Regions from separate parts of the Homo sapiens genome. Here region 2 is linked to region 1. Evidence: promoter capture Hi-C in 16 types of primary human blood cells and fetal thymus (Javierre and others, 2016). All regions are on one chromosome and are shown on one strand. The core of a region is centred on a gene start or on the middle of the fragment in contact, and the rest is flanking DNA. Distances in the headings are between cores, read along the strand shown. Region 1 holds the start of MTERF2 (mitochondrial transcription termination factor 2). Region 2 overlaps POLR3B (RNA polymerase III subunit B).

Region 1 (6,474 bases), core at 1,803-4,302:
CCAGTCACAGCTTTCATTATCCAGGGTCATTCCTGCTCCTGTGCTGAGCTCAGCCTCTCTGGCCTGAGAACTCTCAAGCCCTTTCTCAAGTGTTTGCTCCTTCAGGTGTATCCTCCTCTGATGCTCCAGCCATCACTCCACTGCTCTTCCTGTCCTTGCCCAAACCCTCTCTCTCTCCACTGCTCTTCTTTTCCCTGCCCAAACCCTATCTTTCTCTTCACCTCAGCTAATTCTTGCAGATCCTTCTTTCTCTCCATTTCCTCTTCTACTTATATAGCTTGCGATAAAGATAACTTTCATGTGGTTACAGCCAATGAGTAGTTTTCATTCTTATCTCTTTTTTTTGTAGAGAAGGGGTTTCACCACATTTCCAGGCTGCTCTTGAACTCCTGAGCTCAAGCGATCTGCCCACCTTGGCATCCCAAAGTGTCGATTACAGGCGTGATGTGGTTTGGCTGTGTCCCCACCCAAATCTCATCTTGAATTGTAGCTCCCATAATTCCCTTGTGTTGTGGGAGGAACCCAGTGGGAGATAATTAAATCATAGGGGTGGTTTCCCCCATACTGTTCTCATGACAGTGAATAAGTCTCATGAGATCTGATGGTTTTATAAGGGGAAACCCCTTTCGCTTGGCTCTCACTCTTTTCTTGTCTGCCACGATGTGAGATGTGCCTTTCACCTTCCGCCATGATTGTGAGGTCTCCCCAACCACGTGGCACTGTAAGTCCATTAAACCTCTTGCTTTTGTAAATTGCCCAGTCTTGGCTATGTCTTTATCAGCAGCATGAAAAAGGACTAATACAAGCCATGAGCCACCACACCCAGCCTTCCTTATCTCTTTTGACTTCTGCAGCTTTTAGCAGAGTTGACCACTTTCTCCTTGAAATATTCTCTCATTTGACTTCCTGGACACTCGACTTTTTTTGATTCTTCTCCCTTTCTATACTTCTCGCCACCCTCTATCTGTCTCCCATACAAGCTCACCTTCAAGGCTTGGTTCTAGACCTCTCTTCTTCTTACCTTACAGTCTCTCCCCACAGATCTTGTCCTCATCCAGATATTCAGTTCATCCACTTGGGATTCTTTCCAACTTCTTCTCAAAATGTGATCTTGTCAGTTCCCTGCAATAAACTTGCCAATGGCATTTTAGGATAAAGACAAAGTAAAATAAAACATAGAAATGCCTTACCATGGCCTACAAGGCCTCTTTGGGCTCTGCCACCACCCTAATTCCCATTTCCCTCTCCTGCACCAGCTGCATTTGCTTCCTGTCAGTCCCTGGTGCTCTACTGGTTTCTACCATGTGGTCTTTGAAGACTGTGGGCCAGATTCCATGCCCAAAATGCTCCAACTTTTAGGCCTAAGTGTCACTTTCTCAAGGAAACTTTTCTAACCTTCACGAATACATGAAGCCTCCTGTCCCCATTACATGATTTCATGGCACCATGGACTTTTACACTTGCGCACAAGTGGTACAACAGCTGCAGCTGTTCACGTGTTGTTTCTGTCTCAACACTACATGGACAGACTGGTCACCACAGTGTTCCAATGAACTGCTTCCCTATCCTTCACCCAGCTGCCTTCACTGCCTCTAGGAGGCATTCCTGGGCAGGTGGCCTTCTGTGTGCTCTTCCACAGCACCCTGCTCCGGACGCTACTGCAGCACTTATTATGCTCTTACAAGTTCTTCATTCTTCCAACCAGTAGGAATTTTGTTGCTGTTTGTTTGAAGTTCAAGCTGTGTATCAGGCATACTAGGCACAGATCTGCTAAAACAACACTTCTTCACACCTCTGTTTGGATCACAGATCAACTCAGAACCTGAGAGTCACAGACTCTCTTTCCAGAAGAAAAGACCCACGCTCACAACATTTCGCAAATGATTTTAGCAGGATTCATGGACACCCTGCAGCCCGGCCATGAATGACCTGCACTAGATTTACAAGCGTTGGGAAGGCAGGAACTGAACGGTGTTCTGCTTTATTCCCTGCACCCAGCAAAGAACTTGTTCCACAGAGAGACAAAATTAGTATTTGTCAGGTGAAACTGAGTGAACAAGTGGATGCGGTACATTAATGCAGTGGGTAAAACTGGGTTAGCAGAGCCAGACTGCCTGATTCCTGGACAACAGTTGTGTTGTGACTTGAAGAAGTTACTTCACCTCTCTGAGCCTCAGTTTGGCATCAGGAAAATGGTGATACTATCTCCTGGGTGACTGCAAAGATCAAACGAGTTAATACCATAAATCACTTAGAATATGCAGAAAACTCTTCACATATACTAAATCATTAAATCATCACAACAACTCATTTTAAAATGAGGAAACAGACGCAGGTAAAGGAACTTGCCCAAGGTTACTCAGCTAAAAAAAAAAACAAAAAACAAAAAACCGGCAGAATTTGGACTCAAACCCCACAGGTTGGCTCCAGAGTCCTGCCTGCTCTTAGCCCTGTGCCCCCACATATAGCAATGCTTTTGGTAAATGTTTGTTAAATCACAATGTGGGCTGTTCTAGGATGCTTGTTTCTTAAGCATTTTTGGGGAGTGAAATTCACTTCTGTAATACACAGTTATGGTTAGTATGGTCTTCTCTACACCACCACTGGTTTCAATAAAGTTCTTCTTTCGTAACACATATGCCCTGCTGCCAGTTTCAAATTGACCAACGTTTATAAGCAAGGAAAAACGAGGGTCCACGGAAGATCTCCAGGACCGATCAAAAGGCCGCACATTCACTGTGGGGCCTCCGCTTTTCCAGAGAAACCCGGCAGGCTGAGCTGAGCGTCTGGCGAGGCGTGGGGTTTTGCGGGCCCTGACCGCTGCGGCGCCGCTGGTGAGGAACACGCCCAGGAGCAGAGGAAGGGGGCGACTCACCCGTCGGCGTCAGCTCCAAGCAAGGCACAGGGAGTCCCGGGGGCCAGGCCCCGTCCTTCCCTCTCTCTCCGGCCAGCCTCCCCACAGTCCGCAGTCCCCGAGGCCTGGAGCCGGGATTTCGGTCCTCGGTCTCAAGAAGCTCCCGACAGTTCTCAGCAGCGCCAACCAGGCCATCAGTCCCTTCGCCCATGGCCAATCAGGGCTCGGGAGATGACCGCCAACCCCCGCCCCCCCAAGACACGCCCCCGCGTCCCAACGCAGCCAGTCAGAGCGCGGGACACAACTACGCGTCCCTCCCCGCACCACGAGGGCGAGTCGGAGTGGGAATCGGCTTTCCAGGCAGCCCAGCCTGTGCTGGCGGGGGCATCTGGCATTTTCACACCCTTTCCTTCCCAGCATTTTAGGAAGCGGAGTTCCAGTAGCTTTGACGCTTAGAAAATATAAGAAAAAAAAGAAGTAACAGAAACCGCTATATCTTTAAGATAGAGCCAATCACTGTTCCCAAAATAATTCAGTTAGGTAAAGAACCAACTTACAAAAGAAATGTTTAAAAAACCCCCAAAGTTCTTTGAAACACATCTGAACTCTTCCCCGCCCCCACCCTACCCCAGCAGTTAGCGACTGTCTTTAAAAGCCATTCTCCTTTCTCTCCCTCCTTGCCACCTTCACCTAAATACTCCCCTTTTCTGATAAACTGCCAAGTGGTTTCCATTCTAATTATTACCGGTGATGCCCAACCTCATACACTAAACACGTTAATTTCTCCTTAAAGCCAGGCTGAATGTCTCTCTCATTTATTTTCACATTTATCCATCCAAAAAACAAGTATTTATGGCAGGCCTGCTAAGTGCCAAGCATATTGAAACAGCAATGAGAAAATAGAGGGGGAATAAAACACATTCCCTGTCCTTATGGAGCTTACATTCTAGTGGAGGGCAGAGATATCAACAACTAATAACGTGACTAATCACACCTAGTTAAGTGTTATCGAGGACAGGGTGCCCTGAGCTGGGCCTGGTGATTCTGTTTGTGTGGAGTTGGAGTCAGGAAAACTGGTTTTCCCAGCTGGAGGTGTCTGCTGTCAGGTGTTCGTAGCACACTGTGCACAGTTCTGCCGTCGGTGGCACTGGCATACAGACTGCCCTCGCACCCTGTGGAGTGAATTCCTTGAGGCTACTGATTATTTTTTCTGTCAACAATGCTGGGCACACAGTAGGAACTCAGGAAATGTTAACTAAATCTTTGAGTCTAGTCTCACTATGCAGTTTAGGCTCAACAGGCTATATTGAGAGGAGCTCACACGTGCATTTAACTCCACTGAGTAGCAGCAAGAATCCTGGCTCCTCAAGATCACCCACCTCTGATCTCTAGGATATTCTAGAATGATCTGAGCAACTCATGTGTACAGCTGGGGGGTGTTTGTCCAGCAACTCCTGAGTTATCCGAATATAAAAACTCTATTATGCATAGATTTATTGCACACTTTTTCCTGAAATAAAATGATTTGGGGTCCAGACTAACCAAAGTGTGTCATTTGCACTTAGGAAAAGGAAATTAGGATACAGAAAAGGAAGTTAAGGAATGTAAACTCAGGACTTAGAACTGCAAGCTGCCATCACTGGTCAGGAGGGAGGGAGCAGAAATGTGCACCAGGGTGCTGGAAGCTTGTATTAGGGCTCCACGTAATTGTGCAAGGAATTACAATACATATGACCCCGTGCATTGTAATCAAAACTTGAAACTGACAAATCAGCTATGCCAACTGTATTAAATAAATGCTACTCAAAGTTTTTTCCAGCCCAAATATTTAAACAGTGCATTTCTAGGACCATATAATCAGAAAAAAAACCTTGAATGAAGAAAAGGGGAAAAGAACTTACAATTATGCATATTATGTACAAGAAAATTACAAACACATTTGAATTGTGAGAAGATCCTGAAATTTCTAGTATGTAAGAGATGCATTAAAAATACTGATAGACTTTTATATCTCAAATTTACTTATTTATTTTAAGCAAATATGAAAAACATAAGGACTTTGTACAGTTCATTCAAAACCCTGGTTCTCTCAATATAATTTTCCCAAGTTGTCAGTACAGTTTTTGGCAATAAGAATTGAAGAAGTATTTGCTGAATGAGTAAAATGTCTTAAATCCCTTAACCACAAGTAGGATTTCTAGTTAAGGGGAGAACACTGATTCGAACATCATGTATCTGCTCAAGTAGAGCATGATGACTGATGCCTTTTCTTTCCCTTTCAGTGATTCATTTTGACCACTATTTACACCAAACTGAAAAAGCTTTCCAAAAAACTCCCTAATAAAAAAAAAATCCTCTTACATTTATAAATAGCATACCAGTGCTTATGCTGAGATAGTGTTCTTTTACTGTTTATTTATTCACATTAAAACTGAATCTTTGGCCGTGCGCGGTGGCTCATGCCTGTAATCCCAGCACTTTGGGAGGCCGAGGCCAGCGGATCATGAGGTCAGGAGATCGCGACCATTCTGGCTAACGGTGAAACCCTGTCTCTACTAAAAAATACAAAAAATTAGCCGGGCGTGATGGCACGCGCCTGTAGTCCCAACTACTCGGGAGGCTGAGGCAGGAGAATCGCTTGAACCCAGGAGGCAGATGCCGCAGTGAGCCGAGATCGTGCCACTGCACTCCAGCCTGGGCGACAGAGTGAGACTCTGTCTCAAAATAACAACAAGAAAACTGAAATCTATGACCTCTTGTACGGTGATGGTAAATCTCAGGTCTATGAATTTCTCAACTCTGCACTGTACAACCAGGTCCAAAGAGTAGGATGTGAGGTACACTTACCATAAAAAACAATTAAAATATTACTTCACTTTAACAGTGGTGAAAAAAGAACGATAAAGCACAGGATTTTTTCTTATTCTTTTTCTCGGTAATGGATTTCCCACCTGCCGCCCCATCCCCGAGACAAGGTCTCACCCTGTCATCCAGGTTGGAGTGCAGTGGTGCAATCATAGCTCACTGCAGCCTCAAATCCCCTAGATCAAGCCATCCTCCCACCTCAGCCTCCCAAGTAGCTGGGACCATAGTGCACACCACCACACCTGGCTAATATTTTTGTTGTTTCCTTTTGTAGAGATGGGGTCCCAAGATGTTGTTCAGGCTAATCATTTTTTTTTTTTTGAGACAGAGTCTCACTCTGTCGCCCAGGCTGGAGTGCAGTGATGTGATCTCGGCTCACTGCAAACTCCGCCTCCTGGGTTCATGCCTCAAGTGATTCTCCTGCTTCACTTCAGTTTCCCAAAGTGCTAGAATTATAGGCATGAGCCACCCTGCCTGGTCTTCTTTACTTTTTTTTTATTTTTATATTGATTTTTTAAAAATAGAGATGGGGTCTTGCTAAGTCTCCAGGGCTGGTCTCAAACTCCTGGCTTTAAGTGATCCTCCCGCCTCAACCCCACAAAGTGCTGGGATTACAGGCAATGAGCCACCACACCCAGCTCAGATGAGGTCTTGATCTGTCCACCCAGGCTGGAGTACAGTGGCACAATCATAGCTCACTGCAGCCTTGACCTCCTGGGCTTCAGTGATCCTCCCACCTCAGCCTCCAAAAGTGC
Region 2 (6,474 bases), core at 2,967-5,466, 500 kb before region 1:
GGGGGCAGCAGAGAAGAGCAAATGAATGGACTTGACTGACTGAAATAAAGACAGCATAAAGAAGAAAAACCACGGGGACTGTGGTTTTAATCCGGTAAACGATGGCACCAATCACAAAGCATTTGTGTCTCACTGACTTGAGATGGTGAGATGATGGAAGATCATCTCGAGTGCCTATATTGTTGATTAATTCATCCATTTATTGAGCTTTCACTGTGTGCCAAGCACTGTTCTAAATACTGGAAATACAGAGGTAAACAAGACTGATGGGGTCTCTGTTCTCCCGGGATTTGTGTTCTCCTTGGGGAGGAAACAGACAAAAAAGAAGTAAACAAAAATATAAACCCCAACTACTTAGTAGGCTGAGGCAGGAGGATCACTTGAGCCCAGGAGTTTGAGACCAGCCTGGGCAGTATAGCAAGACTCCATTTCAAGAAAAAAAAGTGTAAACAAAAATATAAACAGGATAATTGAAGGTAATGATAAGTGCCATATATGAAGAATGATATAAAAGAGTGGATGGTTTAGAGGTGGGGGTGTGTACTTTAGATTACGATCAGGAACAGCCTCTCGGAGGAAGCGACATTGAGCTGAGACACGAAGGATACAAAGGAGCCAGCCGAGCAAAAGTCTGGGAGGATTTAGTTATAGGCAGAGAGAATCATTAGGGTAAGAGTTCTGAGGCACGAATAAGCTTGGTATATTCAAGGAACAGAAAAAAGGCCAGTCTGGCCAGGCATATGCCTGACAAGCAGCACAGTATGAGACTTGGGGAGTGACAGAAGGATGATGGGGGCATATCCTATAGGGCCTTTTGGCTAAAAGAAAGGAGATTGGACTTTACTCCAGATATGCTGGGAACCAACAGAACCGTTGGATGGTGGGTGTCTTGGTCCATTTTCTGCTGCTATGACAAAATACCACTGACTGGATAATTTATAAAGAAAAGAAGTTTATTTGGCTTATGGTTCTAAAGACTTGGAAGTGGAGGAGCGTGGCACCAGCATCTGGAGAGGATCATCCCGTGGCAGACAGGCAGAGGGGCAGGAGAGCTTGCTTTTATAACCAAACCAGTCCTGAGATAAGTAACCCAAGTCTGTAATAATGGCATTAATCCATTCATGGGAATGGAGTCCTTATGACCTAACCACCTCTTAAAGGCCCCATATCAATTAAATCTCAACATGAGTTTTTGTGGGTACATACAAACCATAAAAATGAATATAAGCAAAGGAGTGACGAGATCTAACTTACAACTTCTAGAGCTCACTGTGGATTCTATATGAAAAGTGGATTGGAACGGGCAAGGAAGGGGGCAGGGAGACCATTGCAGTGGTCCAGGCAAGAAAGGGTGGTGGCTTGGACTAGGACAGCAGCAGTGGAAAAATAGAGAGAAGTGACTGGATTCTGGACATACTCTGGAGATAGAGCCAACAGGACTTGCTTATGGCTTGGATGGATGTTGCAAGAGGAAAAGACAGGAGTTGAGGATGAAGTTTGTGGCCTGAGCAACTGATAATGCTGTTTACCAAGATGGGAGCAATTGGGTAAAGAATAGTTTTTTGGCATTAGACAAGGGCAGAGGTTGAGAGTTTGGGCCTCAGGTTGAGATGATTAGACTCCAAGTGAAGATATAGGCTGGCAATTGGTTATAGAGTCTAGAGCTCCAGGGAGAGATTTGGGCTAGAGAAAAAATTGAGGAATCATTTGCATGCTGTTTATCTCCACATTTATAGTATTTTACTTTTTGTGTATTGATCATTTATAAGCACTTTTATCTATATTTCATCCTTTAACTGGTACAGTTCCAGTTTGTGTTGTTATTCCTACTATAAAGAGTAAGGAGATTGGCCAGGCGCGGTGGCTCACGCCTGTAATCCCAGCACTTTGGGAGGCCGAGGCGGGCAGATCACGAGGTCAAGAGATCGAGACCGTCCTGGCTAACATGGTGAAACCCCATCTCTACTAAAAATACAAAAAATTAGTTGGGCGTGATGGCAGGTGCCTGTAGTCCCAGCTACTCGGGAGACTGAGGCAGGAGAATGATGTGAACCTGGGAGGCGGAGCTTGCAGCGAGCCTAGATTGGGCCACTGCACTCCAGCCTGGGGTCAGAGGGAGACTCCGTCTCAAAAAAAAAAAAAAAAAAAAAAAAAAAAGAGTAAGGAGATTGAGGTTCAGGGGAGGTGAGTAGCATGCCTCCTACAGCTTGGTGCTGGCAGAGCCCACATTTGAATCCAGGATTTTGATTCCAAGCATATGGCTCATTTGGTTAAATCTGGTTAAAGGTGGCTCTTTTCTCTTCTTGTATCTTACTCTGCTCCTGAGATTGCCATATTCCCAGAGATTTCTCGTTGGAAAGACACTACCTTTTCTGAGGATGAATCCTGCTGTTTTTTAGTATTATTTTCTGTCTCCTCCTTAAGATGGGCATCTTCTCAAAATTCCCATTCTTCCTGGATAAGCAGCTTTACAGCTGCCACAAATCCAGAATAAATACTACCCTCATACAGCATGTCGCACAAATGCCTGCCAAAGCCCCATATTAAGATGTACTCCTAAAATAAAGCTGTATTTTCTGGTGTCCCTTTCCTTCTAAAATCAGCTTATTGTAAAACACTATCCCCACTCCCTTCTTTAACGGGTCCTCTGGTCAGGCTTTAGTGGCCTTGTGTAAAATTCAGAATCTATCAGGATTTCAAACAGATGTAAAAGGAAGTAAATTTCTGAGCCCTCAACTTTGACAGTTCTCCCAATTTATTTGGCTAGATGTGACAGTAAAAGCCACAAAAAGAGGGCACTTGAAGAAAATGTTTTGGCCACAGTGTTTACAGTTAGTGCACTTGGAACCTTCACATGCCAGGCACAGATGGCAGGTGTCTGTAAGGAGCCACACAATAACCCAGCGCTTAGTGTGGGCCCTAAGGGGGACTGCATCAGGCCTAAAGGAGTTGGATATTGGCAAGTAAAATGTGAGTGAAACAGAAAATGTAGTCCACAACATCAGTTATGCTATTTGTAGTTGTCATGAAATGAGCTGATAAAAATTTCAAAGTGTTGAGTTTTCAGGGTATATGTGTCACACCACGATTCCTGCAGAGGTTTGTTTGTTTGTTTGTTTCTGTTTTGGTCCAGATACATGCCAGAATAAGAGCAGTGGTTAGTTGAACTTAGTTTTTAATCCTGAGATGTAGAATTGTTTGGAAATCCTGTTTTTTCTTTTGTAGTATCTCCTGCAAGTTGACACATACATATTATCTATGAGAAAATTTAAAAATTCTTTTGATTTAGTATACCTTTGTGCATATTATTTTTCTCTCTCCATTTAGAGCATTAAATGTATTGTTCTGGGTGTTCAGAAAGTAACATGGCCCTGCAGATTGTCTGATTTTTGTCTTTTCTTAAAAGCTTACTTCGACAAAGCTGTTGTTAGGGATTCTTTCTGTATATGAATTGTGTGTAGATCACATTTCGGTGCCCAATGCCTCTTCAGATATCCTAACAATTAAAGGAGACTTGAAAATTTAGTTTCACAGAACATGTGCATCTGTCCCGCTCAAGCCTGATCGCTTCAAAGGTGGTAGGATAATTAGTAGCTAAATGAAACAAACATAAAGAGGAAGCGGAACAGTGGTAGTTATGTGCTGCATGTGATCACAGAGCTCATGGAGAAGACTGAAGGGGGCAGAATGCGTGGGTCAGCTGGAATAAGCGAGTCAATACTGAGTAGTTGGGAATCAACATCAGTGCTGCATGATAAGCAAAGATTGAATGCAGTTGGTCAGAGGAGGCCCACTGGAGAAGTGAAAATGTTTTATCAGATACAGAGGTGACAGACCCAATAAGCAACATCACCTTCTGTAACCTCAAAAGTGGAGGAGGACTAAGCAGAGAACCAAGTAATGAGGAACCATGTTTTGTAAAGAAGGTGGCATCACAATTAACATAGACTACTGTGGGCTCAGAAGCAGGCAGGATTCACTCACAGTGTACTTTTTAGATGAGGACATTTCAATACAGTCTTCTACTGAGACATTCAAAGAATCTTAATGAAGTACAACCTTCCTTTGGGCATTGTGAGGTCAGTTATATATCTTATCAGTAAATGTGCAGTGAGTCTGCATCCCCCCAAAAGAGCTGGACCTTTGATTAAGAATCTCTAGAGCCGTTCATCCTTTAGTAGTATGCAAAATGCTGGCCAAGGTGAAATGATTTAGTAATAACCTTCTATACATCAAAGTTGTGAATTTGTCTTTTGTTTATTTATGAAGGCAGGAAAGTTTAGTTTTGTTTTAAATTCATTTGGGGAGAAATATGTAAACCCTGAAGTCTTGAGCTCATTTCCCAAGTGGTCTAGACTTCTAGGTATTTTCGAGTGAAGCCATGACTTATCTGGTTGAGGCATAATGATGTTCCAAAGGGAAAACAGAGCTGAACATGGGTGTGGAATGTTCTATGTGTTGCTGTATATTCTAATCATTTTTATAGATAAAGATAGGAAGAGACATTCACATATGCTGATTGAAATTATGTTTGGAATTAGACTTTCTATTAAAATCAAAATAACACATGTAAGCCTCTTCAACTGTGTTATAAATTCTAATGGAGGGAACTCATCAAGGGCAAATATTTTTATCTTGAGCCTTGTTTTCTCTGATGATTAGTGCATTTATTAGAAGATTAACTACTCCTTTTAAAAAAAATCTTTAACAAAAATTATCTGACAGCCCAAGGAATTCTCAAGTTCCATTTCAGTGTTCAGGCAAACCAAATTATTATATTTCCAGATTTCCTCTTCTTTTGCTGCCATTCACAATGAAGGAGGAAAAAGCGGACTCCTTTGATGTGGAGAGAAAAAAAAAGCAATATATCACTTCCCTGAAAGAACATTTCTCAGTCTCTCATGTGAAAAAGGATTAGCACCTCCAACAAAGGTCCTGTGGATCACAGCATCGGGCAGCAATACCAAGCAGTACTCCTAAGGAGAGGAAAAACTGTATTTGAGCAAGAGTGTTTGTCCTGGCAAATAGAAGCTTTTTAATAACTGCAAATCTGAGATAATGGCATACGCTCCCTAAATCCTTAAGGACCAGACAGCTAGTTTAAATGGAGTGAAGTCAACTTTTGTTTTACAATAGAAGTCTAGTCTTATCAAAATATAGTTTTTTCACTTAATGGTTTAGTCTGCCTATCTGTGGTTGATAAGGATTATGCGTATATGGATAAAATCGTTTGGAAGATTCATCATTGACCCTCTCTTATACAAGAAAAGTTCCATTATAAGGTCACTTGCTTCCATTTTGCACTAATAAGTTATTCAATAACCTGCAGAATTAATTTATTAAGATTTTGATTGAATGTTTCTTAGAAGAAAAGAAAACCTGCCCTGACTTTCCAACACATTAAAGAATCTTTTTACAGTAGATATAAAGAGGCTTGTGGGAAGTAAGAAAATGGTAATTCATGTGTGATAGAAAAGCCAAGGAGAAAGTTTATCTGTTAAACAAGGTTTGGTTTTGCTAGACCTTCATTTGTTAGTCCTTTTTTCTGTATTATGCTTTCTAAAATTGAGACAGTGAAAAGAACCTGATTTAAAGTAATAATAATAACACCTTGTACTCGTGTAGTACTTGAGACTGTCTAAAATCCTCTCTGCAAGTCCACAGCTTTAAACAGTCTGGATAGCTTTGGCTGTCTGCTTTGCTTGATCCTGCTTGAATGGAAGTTTCTAAGTGGGAGGGGAGAAGGAGGCTGGTAGGGCTATCCGTATGAGCCCCATCATAAGGTGTATGATGCCAAATGATCCATCAGAGTTTCAGTCCAAAACCAAAACTCCAGCAGCTCTTACTTTAATGTTATTAAATCAGGGTTTCTTCGTCCACACAGATACCTTATTGGAAGAAGATTTTATGGAATTGACTTTTTTAGGAACAAATTTTGGTCTTCAGTAGCTCGCCAGTAACCCTCTGACCTTTCAGTAAATATCCAACTAAAGCTTTGAAATTAGGGTATTTAGTGTTTTATGGCCCAGAATAAAAATCTCCAATTCTGTTTCCAAATAGTGTAGCCTCAACACATTTTATTAAGCTCTTGACACATTCAGCCGTGTGTATTTTGTAAAGTTCCTATGGTTATTGTTTTACAATAGTTGCTTGCAAAAGCATTGTAAGGGTTTCAATTAATCAGCCCTTTGTGCGCTTCAGACTATGCAAATTTATCACATCAAACCATTCAACTGCTCATGGGAAAGCCGTGTAAAAACTGTATTGTCTTCTAGCGCCTCCTCTCATTTAGAGTGATGTTTTAATAAGAAAGCTAATCAAGTTTTCTTATGCATTATTTATCTGTTAACATGTAAGGAAGAGCCGAATTAAAATTATGTCAACCGGTATATGGCAAGTGATGTGATAGATCTGGAAATGATTCAACAACAGAACAAAGCCAATATGATTCAACAGTTTTTGTCTACTCCCCTC

Evidence for each region. The method cuts DNA at HindIII sites, captures the fragments that hold promoters and counts their contacts. A CHiCAGO score of 5 or more calls a contact.
Region 2: a contact is called between a fragment that was not itself captured here and the fragment with the promoter of MTERF2 in region 1, in 1 of 17 cell types (M1 macrophages). The highest score is 6.0, in M1 macrophages.

The regions. Positions count from the first base shown.
Region 1 is chr12:106,984,094-106,990,567 of GRCh38, forward strand. It overlaps MTERF2 (mitochondrial transcription termination factor 2), which reads right to left and starts at 3,053. Exons shown (of 3, transcript NM_001033050.3): 1 at 2,876-3,053; 2 at 1,022-1,132. The HindIII fragment of the contact is 15,581 bases long and covers 1-4,537 here.
Region 2 is chr12:106,484,159-106,490,632 of GRCh38, forward strand. The region is part of intron 23 of POLR3B (RNA polymerase III subunit B); the gene reads left to right. Among named protein-coding and RNA genes, the nearest start is that of RFX4, 96 kb to the right of the region's middle. The HindIII fragment of the contact is 1,625 bases long and covers 3,405-5,029 here.